Linked DNA regions of Homo sapiens: regions 1 and 2 are each linked to region 3. The links are contacts of gene promoters, found by promoter capture Hi-C in blood cells and fetal thymus (Javierre and others, 2016). All regions are on one chromosome and are shown on one strand. The core of a region is centred on a gene start or on the middle of the fragment in contact, and the rest is flanking DNA. Distances in the headings are between cores, read along the strand shown.

Region 1 (4,156 bases), core at 861-3,360, 130 kb after region 3:
ATGAAGAAAATGAAGCCTAGAAAGGTTAAGCAGATTGCCCAAAGTCACAAAGCCCAGGCAGCCTGGCTGCAGAACCAAATCCTCAAGCATTCTGCTCAGCTGCCTCTGCGAGGCAACAAGCCCAGGAGGAAAGGAACTAGGAGCTAGACAGGTCTGGGTGCAAACCTGATCCCGCCTCGTGTTGGCTGTGTGAACTTGAATAAGGAACCACCCTCGCCACCTTCACTTATGCCTCATTTTCCCATCTGTGAGTGGGTATGGGAATTCCTTCCTCACAGACTATGATGAGGATGAAAGGAGAGAGAACTCATCAAGTGTCTAGCATGGCACCTGACACATGGCAGGTGCTCACTATGTGAGAGCTGCTGGTGGCACTTGCTATCCTGATCACCTCTGCCTCAGCCCCCTCCTGCTCTGGCAAAGCTGGCAGGCTGATCCCAAGCCTTGACCTCTTCATGCCTCCCCAACTTACCCTCAGTCTGCTGAAGAGGGGAGAAATCTGAGTCTGAGTCCCGTTCTTTCTCTGGTTCCTTGAGTAACCTCATGAGAGTCTTGACCCCTAACTGTGTCTGTTCCTTCACCAATATACTGAGGACACTTACTTAAACCCTGCTCACTTCACTGGCTTACGGTGAAGAACAAACAAAAAGACGAAGTGAAAGTGCTTCGAAAAGAAGTTTCAAGGGAAAAACTACAGGAGGAGAGGCTGTGGACTTCCAGGAGGCTAGGAAGGGGGAGATGATACAGGCTGAGTATCTCTTATCTCAGATGCCTGGGACCAGAAGTGTTCTGAATTTGGGATTTTTTTGAACTTTGGAATATTTGCATATTTACTGGTTGAGCACCCCAAATCCATTTGCAAGGCTCCAATAAACATTTCCCTTAAATGTCACGTTGGTGCTCAAAACATTTGGAATTTTGGAGCACTTCGGATATTCAGTCTATACCTGGGATGAACGCTGTGAGGGTAGAGAGAAGACACACAGATATAACCAGGCGGCAGAATGTAAAGCACTGGTGCCTGACTAGCACAGAGGAAGCAGGGGAGAGGCGAGAGAGGCATTCAGGATAAGGCCCAATGGGCTGTCACTGATATGGGAGAAAAAAATGGGAAGAGGAAAAATGGCAGAAAGATGCCGAGGTCAGCACGGGACACAGAGGATAAGAAGCCCATGGGTGTGACAAGAGGCTGCCAGGGCTCAGTAGCACATTTAGAGACAAAGATGAGGTTTAGGAGGTGCTTGTTCAAGGATTAAACCTGAAGGTGTGGCGGGATAACATTCCCCAGGAGGGCATTATGTGGAAGGAAGAGAGACTACGTGTTCTCATTTACACTGTGGCCCAAGAGAAGGAGCAAGTAAGAGCCCAGCTCACTGTGAAAAAACTATTCTTCATGTTTGTACAGTTTTATAGCTCAGAAGCTGGCCCCAGTTGTCACCTACTTCCACCCTACCTGACATCTCTGAGGTGGACAGGGCCCTAGAGAAAAAAGCCCAGGGGGCAGGTTCTGGCAGTGAGTCACCTAGGTACAGGAGGGGAGCGAGGCTGGGCCTGGGCACAAGCCGATCCCTCCTGATTCCCAGCCCAGGGCGCTCTCTACAGCAGGCAGAGCGATGCTATATGTGAGACTAAGCTGGACCTGGATCTGAGTCCTGGACCCAAAGTTTATTGACTCTGATTTTGGAAAAGTCCCTTCACCTCTGGGGCTCATTTTCCTCATTAGTGAAAATCAGATCTATCATAGAATCTACCTCATGGGGTAGCTGTAAGGGTTCAGGAAGACCCAAAGGATGTAAAAGACTTTGCACAGTGCAAGCACAGTATAGGCTGCTCAGTAAAAAGAGTAACAGTTGTTGTTATTATGACATGACCCTTTAAAACATGAGCTATGGCACCTCTCAGCTCAAACTCTCCAATGCCAATTTCACTCAGTGAAATACAAAGTTCTTTCCAAGGCCTACCAGGTCCTACATGATTTGGCCCCAGTTACTTGACTTCATCTCCTATCTCTCTCCCTCCTTCCTCATCAATTGCAGCCATCCTGGCCTCCTATGGCTACTCCTTGAACACGCCAGATATGGGCCACCTCAGGGCCTCTGCGCTTGCTGTTCTTTCTGTCTGGAATGCTCTTCATCTCAGATGCTGGCATGGCTTATTCTCTCATCTCCTTCAAGTCTCTGCTAAAAAGTCACCTCTTCAGAGAGACCTTCTCTGACCATGTTATCTAGAACAGTCTCCTTTATCACTCTCCACCTTCTTTATCCATGAGGGTGGTAGGTTTTGTTTACAAATATATCCCCGGCATCTGGATTAGTGCCTGGCACATGGCAGGTGCGTGGAACCAAATAGATACATGAATGCTGCTCCTGGGTCCAGACACTCACCCTTCTCTCTCTTTCCCATGGTGCAATGTAGTCCCTCTCCCGACCACCAGGCCCAGAGAGATTCTGGGGGCCACCAGAGCCAGGCTCCTTCCACCGTCGCCGCCGCTCTATCCCATAGAGTCCAGGCTGACTGTGTCCAGACTCAGACATGGTTACCTATGGAGGGAATGAGGGGATTTCAGGATGACAGAGTCTCTTCCTACTCTACTTGGCATATCCTAGACTATACGAAGTCCCTTCTTTCTTTTTTTTGGAGATGGAGTCTCTCTGTCGCCCAGGCTGGAGTACAGTGGCCTGATCTTGGCTCACTGCAACCTCTGCCTCCTGAGTTCAAGCAATTCTTCTGCCTCAGCCTCCCAAGTAGCTGGGATTACAGGCACCCACCACCATGCCTGGCTAATTTTTATATTTTTAGTAGAGATGGGGTTTCACCATGTTGGCCAGGCTGGTCTCGAACTCCTGACCTCAGGTGATGCACCTACCTTGGCCTCCCAAAGTGCTGGGATTACAGATGTGAGCCACTGTGCCCAACCAAGGCTCTTCCTTTCTTCTTTTTTTTGAGACAGAGTTTCGCTCTTGTCACCGAGGCTGGAGTGCAATGGCGTAATCTCGGCTCACTGCAGCCTCCACCTCACAGATTCAAGCAATTCTCCTGCCTCAGTCTCCTGAGAAGCTGGGATTACAGATGCCCACCACCACACCCGACTAATTTTTTTTGTATTTTTAGTAGAGATGGGGTTTCACCATGTTGGCCAGGCTGGTCTCAAACTCCTGACCTCAGGCAATCCACCTGCCTCAGCCTCCCAAAGGGCTGGGATTATAGGCGTGAGCCACCATGCCCGGCCAAGGCCCTTCCTTTCAACAGAGCTCTGGGCCTGTGGTAGCAACTGCAAGCTGGTTCCCAACATCCACTCCTGACTTCTTCCAAAAAAGTAAAACCCTCAGTTCTGAGCTAGGTACATGGCTATCCAGAACAAACTTCTCATCCTTGTTTGCAGTTAGGTGTGGCCATGTGAGTAAGTACTTTCTGGCTATGGTATGACACTAGAAGTGTGGCTTGGCAGCTTCCAGAAACTTCCCTTCACAGACTCTGGCACATGCCTTCTGCCCCTTCCTCCCAGTGACAGGAATGTGGGTGTGGAGGTTGGAGCTCAAGCAGCTATCCTGGGCTGTAAGGCAATTTAATGGAAGGTACAATAAAACAAGACACAAGGTTGGGGGGTTCCACGTTAACCTTGAATTGCCTACTTCGAGAGGCAGTGAAAAACAAATACACATCTATCTCTTACTTGCAGCCAAAACTATTCCCAACTATTAAAATGCTCCAACATAAATAAACTCACAGGGGCAAGTTCACATAAAAATAGGATATTCTCCTTACCAAAATGCAGCAAGGCATTTGCTTACAAACCAGCAATGTGATCCTCAGTCCAACAGCTACTCTTGATTAGTCATTACTAGTGTATGTCATGGTGGGGCTCCAGCCACTTACTAGTGTATGTCATGGTGAGGTTCCAACACTCAAGGGCCTATTTTCACCTGGTATCCCACTACATTTCAGTGTCTGTCTGTCTTCCGTTCCTGACGGTCTGCCTTCCCTCACAGTGAATTTCATTTCAAGGTGTCTCCAGTGTTTATTCTATTTGAGATGTTATATAATGTCTGGCTACCTATGCAACCCACTCTCCACCATTTCAGTATCTGTTTACAGGTCCTTAGAGAGTTTTCCCAGCTGTTCACACATCAGTCTAGGGTGGTATTTGACTACTTAA
Region 2 (4,123 bases), core at 1,624-4,123, 140 kb before region 3:
TGACACCTTTGAGCTTGGTCTCTTCCTTGTCTGGTAGGGGAGGTAAGAGAAAAAGAGAGCCAGTGAGAAAGGTGTGTCTGTGTGTGTCGAGGTGAGGGTCATTGGCCCTAAGTCCTGAGACTGGATTTGGGTAAGAAACATGGTGACAAGAGTCTGAAGGTCTCTAAAGGTTGGGAGGTGAGTGAATGTTAACGCTGGATGGGAGACTGGGCACAGAAACTGGACATGATTGGGGAGTGGGGTCTGTGGAGCTGGAATCCTAGGCCCTGAATGCTCGGCCTCTGAGAAGGGAAGGAACTCAGGGAGTGCTCAAGTGCTTTCTAGGTATAATCTCTAACCCTCTCAAACTCTCCTGGAGGGGTAAGTACATTTATCTCCATCTGACAGATGTGGAAACCAAGACTCAGAGAAGTTAAGGCACCCAGCACAAGTCACACAGCCAGAGCTGACAGAGCCAGGACTCACCAAGTAGAGTCAAATGGTCATACAGGTTAGGGAAGAAGGATTTGAGACAATACAAGCGTCCAAGGAGGCTGGGTGCAGTGGCTCAAGCCTGTAATCCCAGCACTTTAGGAGGCTGAGGCAGGCAGATCACAAGGTCAGGAGATCGAGACCATCCTGGCTAACACAGTGAAACCCTGTCTCTACTAAAAATACAAAAAATTAGCCAGGTGTGGTGGCATGAGCCTGTAGTCCCGCCTATTCAGGAGGCTGAGGCAGGAGAATCGCTTGAGCCGGGGAGGTGGAGGTTGCAGTGGGCTGAGATCGCACCACTGCACTCCAGCCTGGGCGACAGAGCAAGACTCTGTCTCCAAAAAACAAAAACAAAAACAAAAACAAAAAAAAGTGTCCAAGGAGAGGTTTGGAATAATTGATTCTCCTAGAGAAGAAGGACAAGGGCCCCAGACTCCTGGCCATTGGGGGGCTGGGGGCAGCTGACAGTGCAGGTTCAGACTCATGGGTGTCTTAGGAACATGGGCCCTGGGAAGCTTGAATTGTACTAAACTGTTATCTATGTCCCTGAGGAGGACTGGGGGTTTGAATTCTGGGTGGCTTAAAGAGGGGCTGGGGATCTGGATTCCAGGGTCTGGAGGAGAGAGAGAGCTGGGAGCCTGGACTCCTGGGTTGTAGGGAAGTTAGGAGCTAGGGAACCAAACTTCTGGATCCTGGGGAACATGGAAAGTGGGGGCCAGGACTTCTGGTGCCTGTAGAGGAAAGGCCTCCGGAGTGGAATTCCAGCGTCCTGGGGCCCATGGTGGCCAGGCTGGGCTTACCCGCATAGTAGGCCAAGCGGCGGGCTTGGCGGTCAAAGCAGAACCATCGCTTCCTCCAGGTCTTGATGCGGCCGCCCATCTTCACCAGGGGTCCACGGCAGCAGCACCCAGACACCTGCACATGTGGGCAGTTTTCCGGGTTGTGGCCCCATCCCTCCAGATGCTGCCGGAGATCCAAGATTCGCGGGCCTGGAGGGTGGGGTGGGGTGGGTGGGGCCTGGGGAGCAAAGAGACGGGGCAGCTGATGTAAGGGGCGGGGGATTCTACAGCCTGGAGCCCCTCGAGGGGAGCAAGTCATAGCAGCTTGCATGTAAGGCCCGCTACAGCCTTTAGAGGGTAATATTAACTAGGACCATCTGACAAATGCAACGGCTACGTGGATTGACTGTGATGCTCTGCCCAGGACTTTATGGACATCAGCTCCTTGGCACTTCATGGCAACTGTGAGCCCCATTTTACAAATGAGCAAAATGAGGTACAGAGAGATGACATAATGCACCCGAGGTCACACAGAGCTTCTAGGCAGCAGAACTGGGACACGAACCCAGGTATTTCTGACCCTAGAGCTCACCCTGAAACATCAGAGGCCTATCAAAAGAAATAAAGATCGGGCCGGGTGTGGTGGCTTATGCCTGTAATCTCAGAACTTTGGGAGGCTGAGGTAGGAGGATCCCTTAGGCCTAAGAATTCAAGGGCAGCCTGGGCAACATAGTGAGATCCTGTCTCTGAAAAAAAAAAATTTTTTTTGGAAAAAAGAAATGAAGATTGGAGCCTGTGTGGTGGCTTAAGCCTGTAATTCCAGCTACTCAGGAGGCTGCGGTGGGAGGATCCCTTGATCCCAGAAGTTGGAAACCAGCCTGGGCAACACAGAAGACCCCTTCTCTATTTAAAAAAAAAAAAAAAAAAAAAAAAAAAAGGAGAGAGAGAAGAGAAGCTATGTGCAGTGGCTCATGCCTGTAATCTCAGCACTTTGGGAAGCTGAAGTGGGAGGATCACTTGAGGCTATGAGTTGGAGACCAGCCTGGGCAATATAGTGAGACCCCATCTCTACTAAAAATCCAAAAAATTAGCTGGGCCTAGTGCTGCACACCTGTAGTTCCAGCTACTAAGGAGGCTGAGCCCAGGAGGATCACTTGAGCCCAGGAGATCGAAATTGCATTGAGCTATGATTGCACCACTGCACTCCAGCCTGGGTGATTGAGTGAGACCCTGTCTCAAAAATAAAAAAGAAAGAGAGAGCTTGTTTACATTATTATTGTTGTGATGAAATTAATGAATATAATCCTCTGCTAAGTACTTTCTAGGTATAATCTCTGCCCCCTCAAACTCTCCTGAAGGGGTAAGTACATTTATCTCCGTTTCACAGATGTGGAAACCAAGACTCAGAGAGGTTAAGTCACTCGGCACAAGTCACACAGCCAGAGCTGACAGAGCCAGGACTCACCAGGTAGAGTGGTCACCTCAGATGGTCATACAGGTTGGGGAGGAGGATTTAAGGCAATACAAGTGTCCACTATTTATGAGAGCCTGACCATGAGCTGGTCTGATCCAACCTATTCTTCCCAAATAATCCCTGCAAACAGTGGTATGATTCCGGAGGTCAAACTGAGGTTCAGGGTAGTACATCTCAGATTTCTTCATGCAAGCAGATCCGCTGGGGATTTTGTTAAAATGTTAAAATGCAGACTCTGATTCAGTCATTTCAGGGTGGAGTCTGGAGTAGGGGGAGAGGTTCTGCATGTCTGACAAGCTCCCAGGTGGGCCCTGATGCTGCTGTTCCACCAGCCACACTTTGAGTGTCAAGGAGTTAGAAAACTGAAGCAGGATGGGTGCGGTGGCTCACACGTGTAATCCCAGCACTTTGGGAGGCCAAGAGGGGAGGATCACTTAAACCCAGGAGTTTGAGACCAGCCTGGGGCAACATGGCGAAACCCCGTCTCTACAAAAAATACAAAAATTAGGCTGGGCGTGGTGGCTCACGCCTACAATCCCAGCACTTTGGGAAGCCAAGGTGGGGGGATCACCTGAGGTTGGGAGTTTGAGACCAGCCTGACCAACATGGAGAAACCCTGTCTCTGCTGAAAATACAAAATTAGCCAGGCGTGGTGGCGCATGCCTGTAATCCCAGCTACTCAGGAGGCTGAGGCAGGAGAATCGCTTGAACTCGGGAGGTGGAGGTTGCGGTGAATCAAGATGGCACCATTGCACTCCAGCCTTGGCAACAAGAGCGAAACTCCATCTCAAAAAAAAAATACAAAAATACAAACATTAGCCAGGCATGGTGGTGTGTGCCTAGGATCCCGGCTAATTAGGAGGCTGAGGTGGGAGGATCGCTTGAGCCCAGGAGGTGGGGGTTGCAGTGAGCCGAGATCACACCACGGCACTCCAGGCTGGGTGACAAAGGGAGACCATGTCTCAAAAAAAAAAAAAGAAAGAAAAGAAAGAAAACTGAAGCAAGGCCAGAGCAAGAAGGGATGAGAAACAGAGATGAGATCTGCTGGTTGGAGACAGGAGAGTGAGGTGGGGAAATGAGAAGGATTAGGGAGGAGGGAAAGGAAGGGAGGGAAAGGCCAGGTTTAAAGAGTACCCGCTGGGCCTGCAATCTCCCCAAATCCACACAGAAAGACCAAGGATCACCACTGTGTGTGGAAGCTCCCGCTCTGTGTCAGGCACTATGCCAAGTGGTCACTGTGATTACCTCGTTTCTTCTCCAAAAGAACCCATTAATGTTCCTGCTAGACAGATCAAGAAACTGAGGCTTTAAGAAGAGGTGACTCTCCAAGGTCACCAAACTAGGATGTAGGGGAGCTGGGCCCCAATCTAGGAGGAGACCAGGGATGGGCTTGGGA
Region 3 (4,278 bases), core at 1,765-4,264:
ATTCAGTAGGCTCACTGATAGAAATTGCTGGTGTGTGGCTGGTATTCCATCAAGAGTGGCCATTACTACTCCCACCCCTGCCCCTCTATAAACTCCAGATGTTCCAGACCTCTCATCTCTCCCTGTGCACACAAGGCCTTTTCACATCTGTGGGTCTTAGTACACCCACTGTTGCTGTCAAGAATGTCCTCCTCCTCCTTTTTTTTTTTTTTTTTGAGATGGAGTCTCACTTTGTTGCCCAGGCTGGAGTACAGTAGCGCGATCTCAGCTCACTGCAACCTCTACCCTGCATCAGCCTCCCTAGTAGCTGGGATTACAGGCAGCCACCACCACCATGCCCGGCTAATTTTTTGGTATTTTTAGTAGAGACAGGGTTTCATTATGTCAGCCAGGCTGGTCTCAAACTCCTGACCTCAGGTGATCCATTTACCTTGGCCTCCCAGAGTGCTGGGATTACAGGCAAGAGCCACCACGCCCAGCCCTCCTTCCCCCTTTTTGGCCTGGAGAACTCCTTTTCACCCTTCAAAGCCCACCACAAACATAAGAACCTCTATACTTCTTGCCCGCTGAAATACTGCCTCTGCCAGGAAGCCTTCTGTGACTTCTCTCTCTCCCTCTTCACCAACGGACCGCCCCCGCCCCCCACCAACCCCACCACACACACACACCACTACTGTCTTCCACTGTACTCCCTGACAGTAGAGAACCAAGCAGGGCCAGTTGATGCAGCCTCAGCTATATCTCTTACATGCCAAGGCCCATGCACTGGGGATACAATGGTGGAAAATACATGGTCCCTTCAAAGTCTGGATGTCAAGTTTAATGCTGGGGACTAAAGAGAAAAGCTTCAGATTGAAACCTGGAGGTGGCTGGGGCAAAGGACCATTGGCATCATTGGCAGGGCAACTTCCTAAAGAAAGCACCTAAATCTTGGCTTTTAAAGACAGATTTCATAATTGGCAGAGGAGAATTCTAATGATACCCTATTGCCTACAGGGCCCCATCTAATTTGGGAATTCTACTTTATACCAAGATAAGATTGCCAGATTTAGCAAATAAAAACAGAAGACATCCAATTAATTTTTTTGTTTGTTTTTGGGTTTTTGTTGCGGAGATGGTGTCTCACTATGTTGCGAAGGCTGCTGTCAAATTCCTGGCTCAAACAATCCTCCTGCCTTGGCCTCCCACTTCCCAAAGTGCTGGGATTACAGGCATGAGCTACCACACCTGGCCCTTATTTATTTATTTATTTAATTTTCTTTTTTGGGACGGAGTGTCACTCTGTCGCCCAGGTTGGAGCGCAGTAGCGCGATCTCGGCTCACTGCAACCTCTGCCTCCTGGGTTCAAGCGATTATCCTGCCCCAGCCTCCCAAGTAGCTGGGACTACAGGCGCGTGCCACCATGCCCGGCTTTTTTTTTTTTTTTTTTTTTTTTTTTGAGACGGAGTCTTGCTCTGTCGCCCAGGCTGGAGTGCAGTGGCACGATCTCGGCTCACTGCAAGCTCCGCCTCCTGGGTTCACGCCATTCTCCTGCCTCAGCCTTCCGAGTAGCTGGGACTACAGGCGCCTGCCACCACGCCCGACTATTTTTTGTATTTTTAGTAGAGATGGGGTTTCACCGTGTTAGCCAGGATGATCTCGATCTCCTGACCTCGTGATCCACCCGCCTCGGCCTCCCAAAGTGCTGGGATTACAGGCGTGAGCCACCGCGCCCAGCCTACTTATTTATATTTTTTAAGAGACAGGGTCTCGCTCAGTTGCCCAGGCTGGAGTGCAGTAGGGTGATCTGTAGGAAAGGGGCTTCCAGGCCTTAACTCATGTACTCCCCCATAACCAGGTTGGGAGGTTAGCTCACTGTAACCTCAAACTCCTGTGCTCAAGGTACCCTACTAGCCCCTAGGAGAGCAGCTGGGACTACAGGTATGCGCCACCATGCCAGGCTTAATTTTTACTTTTTTTTTTTTTTTTTTTTTTTGTAGAGACGGGGGTCTCACTATATTGCCCAGGCTGGTCTTGAACTCCTGGTCTCAAGCGATCCTCCTGCCTTAGCCTCCCAAAGTATTGGTATCACTGCAACTAGCCCAAAGAATTAATATAGCTATGTTCCATGTGATATTTGGGACATACTTTTCTAAAAGGTTGTATCTTTTGGATATAATTGTTTATCTGAAATTCAAATTTAACTAGACATTGTATATTTTATACGGCAACCACACACCTGGGACAATCAAGACATTCCCTGAAGTTACCAGGAGACAATGCCCATCAGCCTACACTTTTCCAAGCCCACGTCACACAAGGCCCCTTCCAGAGTATTCCAGACGTCAGGTAGGGCCATCCCTTGGTTCACAAGTCCCACTCCTACCACGCCTATGGCAGCCAAACTGAAAGGCAAACACAGTGCTGGAGACCCCACAATGCCCTGGGCCTATAGCAGTCAATTCCCAAGATGCCCCGCGTGAACACAATAGGCACCCGTTCCAATGCTCGAGCAAAGAGACCAGGGCAAAACCTTCCACTACGGGACAATAACGGCCAGTTCCCACAATTCGTTGTGGCAGTTCTTCCCAGGATGCCTTAGGCCTATAGCGACCACCTTCCCAGACTCCCCGTGTGGAAGCGCTCCAAGCCTCCAGGACGGTCAGCGGCAGGTGTGGGATAAAAGGAACCGGTCTCGACAAGGATCTGGGACACTCTTTCCCAGGATGCACCAGGCCTACGACTAGCGGACCGACTCCCACAGCGCTTCAAGGCGGAGCGCTCGGTTCTCCCAGGATGCCCCAGGGCGGCACAAACGCGTAGGGGGAGAAAAAGAAGCCCTCGGGTCACCACGGCCCCAGACCGCCGGCTCCCCGGTGACGGGAGTCGTCGCTCCCATCATGCAGCGGGGCCGTAGCGCCCGCTTCCCGGCATGCCTCGCGCACCCCTGCCCGGGACACTCACCGGCGCCGGCGGCCCCCGCTCCGGCTCTGCGGCGGCGGCTGCACGCCCAGCCTCTGCGCCTGCGTCGCAAGTAGGGTAGGACAGCGCGCAGGGGGCGTGAAGAGCCTAGGGCGCTTGCGCGGCGAGACGGACTAGTCCTGTAGCGCTGTGGGAAGAGGGGCTATGCGCGTCGGGCCGTCGACGAGACCCGCGCGGGGGGCGCCGTGCTTTGCCCCTCGCTGCCTGGGTTTACTTGGTACAGCCCGCGGCCCAAAGGAACAAGAAGCTGAAGGGTTCGCGCGTGCGTGTGCGGGGCAGGAACGCGCCTTACAAAACTGGGATGCGCTGGGGGTGGAGGGCGCTAGTTCGGACTGGATCCTGGGCCCGAGGCCTGCTTATTTGCATAATCCTAGCGCGGGACAATGAAAGGCCTCCCGCACTGGAAGGAGTGATTTGCATATTCCCCGGAGGGGCCTTACTCCAGAGCGCAGTGATTAGCATATGGCGGGGGCAACCTGAGCAAAGCGCATGCGCGCAGGGACTGCAGACTGACGCGAAGTGGGTAGCCTTGTCTTCGTAGGGGATCAGTTTGCATCCTGAGAGAGGGCACGAGGGCCAGGACCCCTCCCAACCAGGATAAAGGTTTATTGATCTCCTAGGTGTCAGGCCCCATGCTGGCGGATTCTGTGGTTTCTGCAGTGAACCATACTCCTGTACTCACGGCACCCCAGTCGAAGGAGATACGCACCTAATTAGACAACTACTACCCAGAAGGTCAGACCTGGAGTGAGGAACACAGGGGGCTGTGGGAGCCTAAGAGGCGCTTGCCCCGGCCTCTGGTTCTAGAAAGACTTCCAGGAGGTGGTGATCCTTAAGCCAAGTACGAATAGGAGCCAACTAGAATGGGAATGGGTCTGGCAGAATGAACTGCAAGCGCCAAGGCCCAGAGGCCAAAAAAAAAAAAAAAAAAATAGAAGCGCATGTTTTGATTGAGGAAGCAAGAGCAGCTTAGTATGCCTAGAACCTAACTGGAGACGGGAAATGGTTCTATAGACGATGTTAGAGTTCAACTATGGCTACATTCCAGTCTTCCTGTAAGTGACTTTGTCACATTCTGGCTTAAAACTCCCCCAAAGGGATCCCATTAGGAAAAAAAAAAAATCCAAAAATCTTTATCATGGCCTCAGGGCTATACACCTGGTCTGGCCGTGCTTATCTTTCTGACCCCACCTACTTCCTCCTCCCTCCATTTCTGTCCAGCTCCACCTTACCCCAAACTCTTTACCAGCTCGGGCCTCTGCTCTTGCCGTTCCCTCCGCCTGAAAATGCTTTTCCCTCTGACCTTTGAATACCTAC

Evidence for each region. The method cuts DNA at HindIII sites, captures the fragments that hold promoters and counts their contacts. A CHiCAGO score of 5 or more calls a contact.
Region 1: a fragment that was not itself captured here is called in contact with the fragment with the promoter of ZNF428 in region 3 in 12 of 17 cell types (non-activated CD4 T cells, naive CD8 T cells, monocytes and 9 more); the score reaches 9.7 in non-activated CD4 T cells.
Region 2: a contact is called between a fragment that was not itself captured here and the fragment with the promoter of ZNF428 in region 3, in 3 of 17 cell types (naive CD8 T cells, fetal thymus and total CD8 T cells). The highest score is 5.2, in naive CD8 T cells.

Annotation. Positions count from the first base shown.
Region 1 is chr19:43,748,208-43,752,363 of GRCh38, forward strand. SMG9 (SMG9 nonsense mediated mRNA decay factor) reads right to left here. Exons shown (of 14, transcript NM_019108.4): 2 at 2,385-2,540. The coding sequence starts at 2,534. Among named protein-coding and RNA genes, the nearest start is that of SMG9, 4.7 kb to the right of the region's middle. The HindIII fragment of the contact is 8,040 bases long and covers 1-4,156 here.
Region 2 is chr19:43,478,103-43,482,225 of GRCh38, forward strand. It overlaps PHLDB3 (pleckstrin homology like domain family B member 3), which reads right to left. Exons shown (of 16, transcript NM_198850.4): 14 at 1,275-1,491; 15 at 1-30. Among named protein-coding and RNA genes, the nearest start is that of LYPD3, 15 kb to the left of the region's middle. The HindIII fragment of the contact is 3,772 bases long and covers 988-4,123 here.
Region 3 is chr19:43,616,615-43,620,892 of GRCh38, forward strand. ZNF428 (zinc finger protein 428) reads right to left here and starts at 3,015. Exons shown (of 3, transcript NM_182498.4): 1 at 2,944-3,015. LOC105372411 (a long non-coding RNA gene) reads left to right here and starts at 2,447. Exons shown (of 4, transcript XR_001753942.2): 1 at 2,447-3,018. RefSeq lists an enhancer at 2,374-3,024 and a silencer at 2,829-3,068. The HindIII fragment of the contact is 4,307 bases long and covers 844-4,278 here.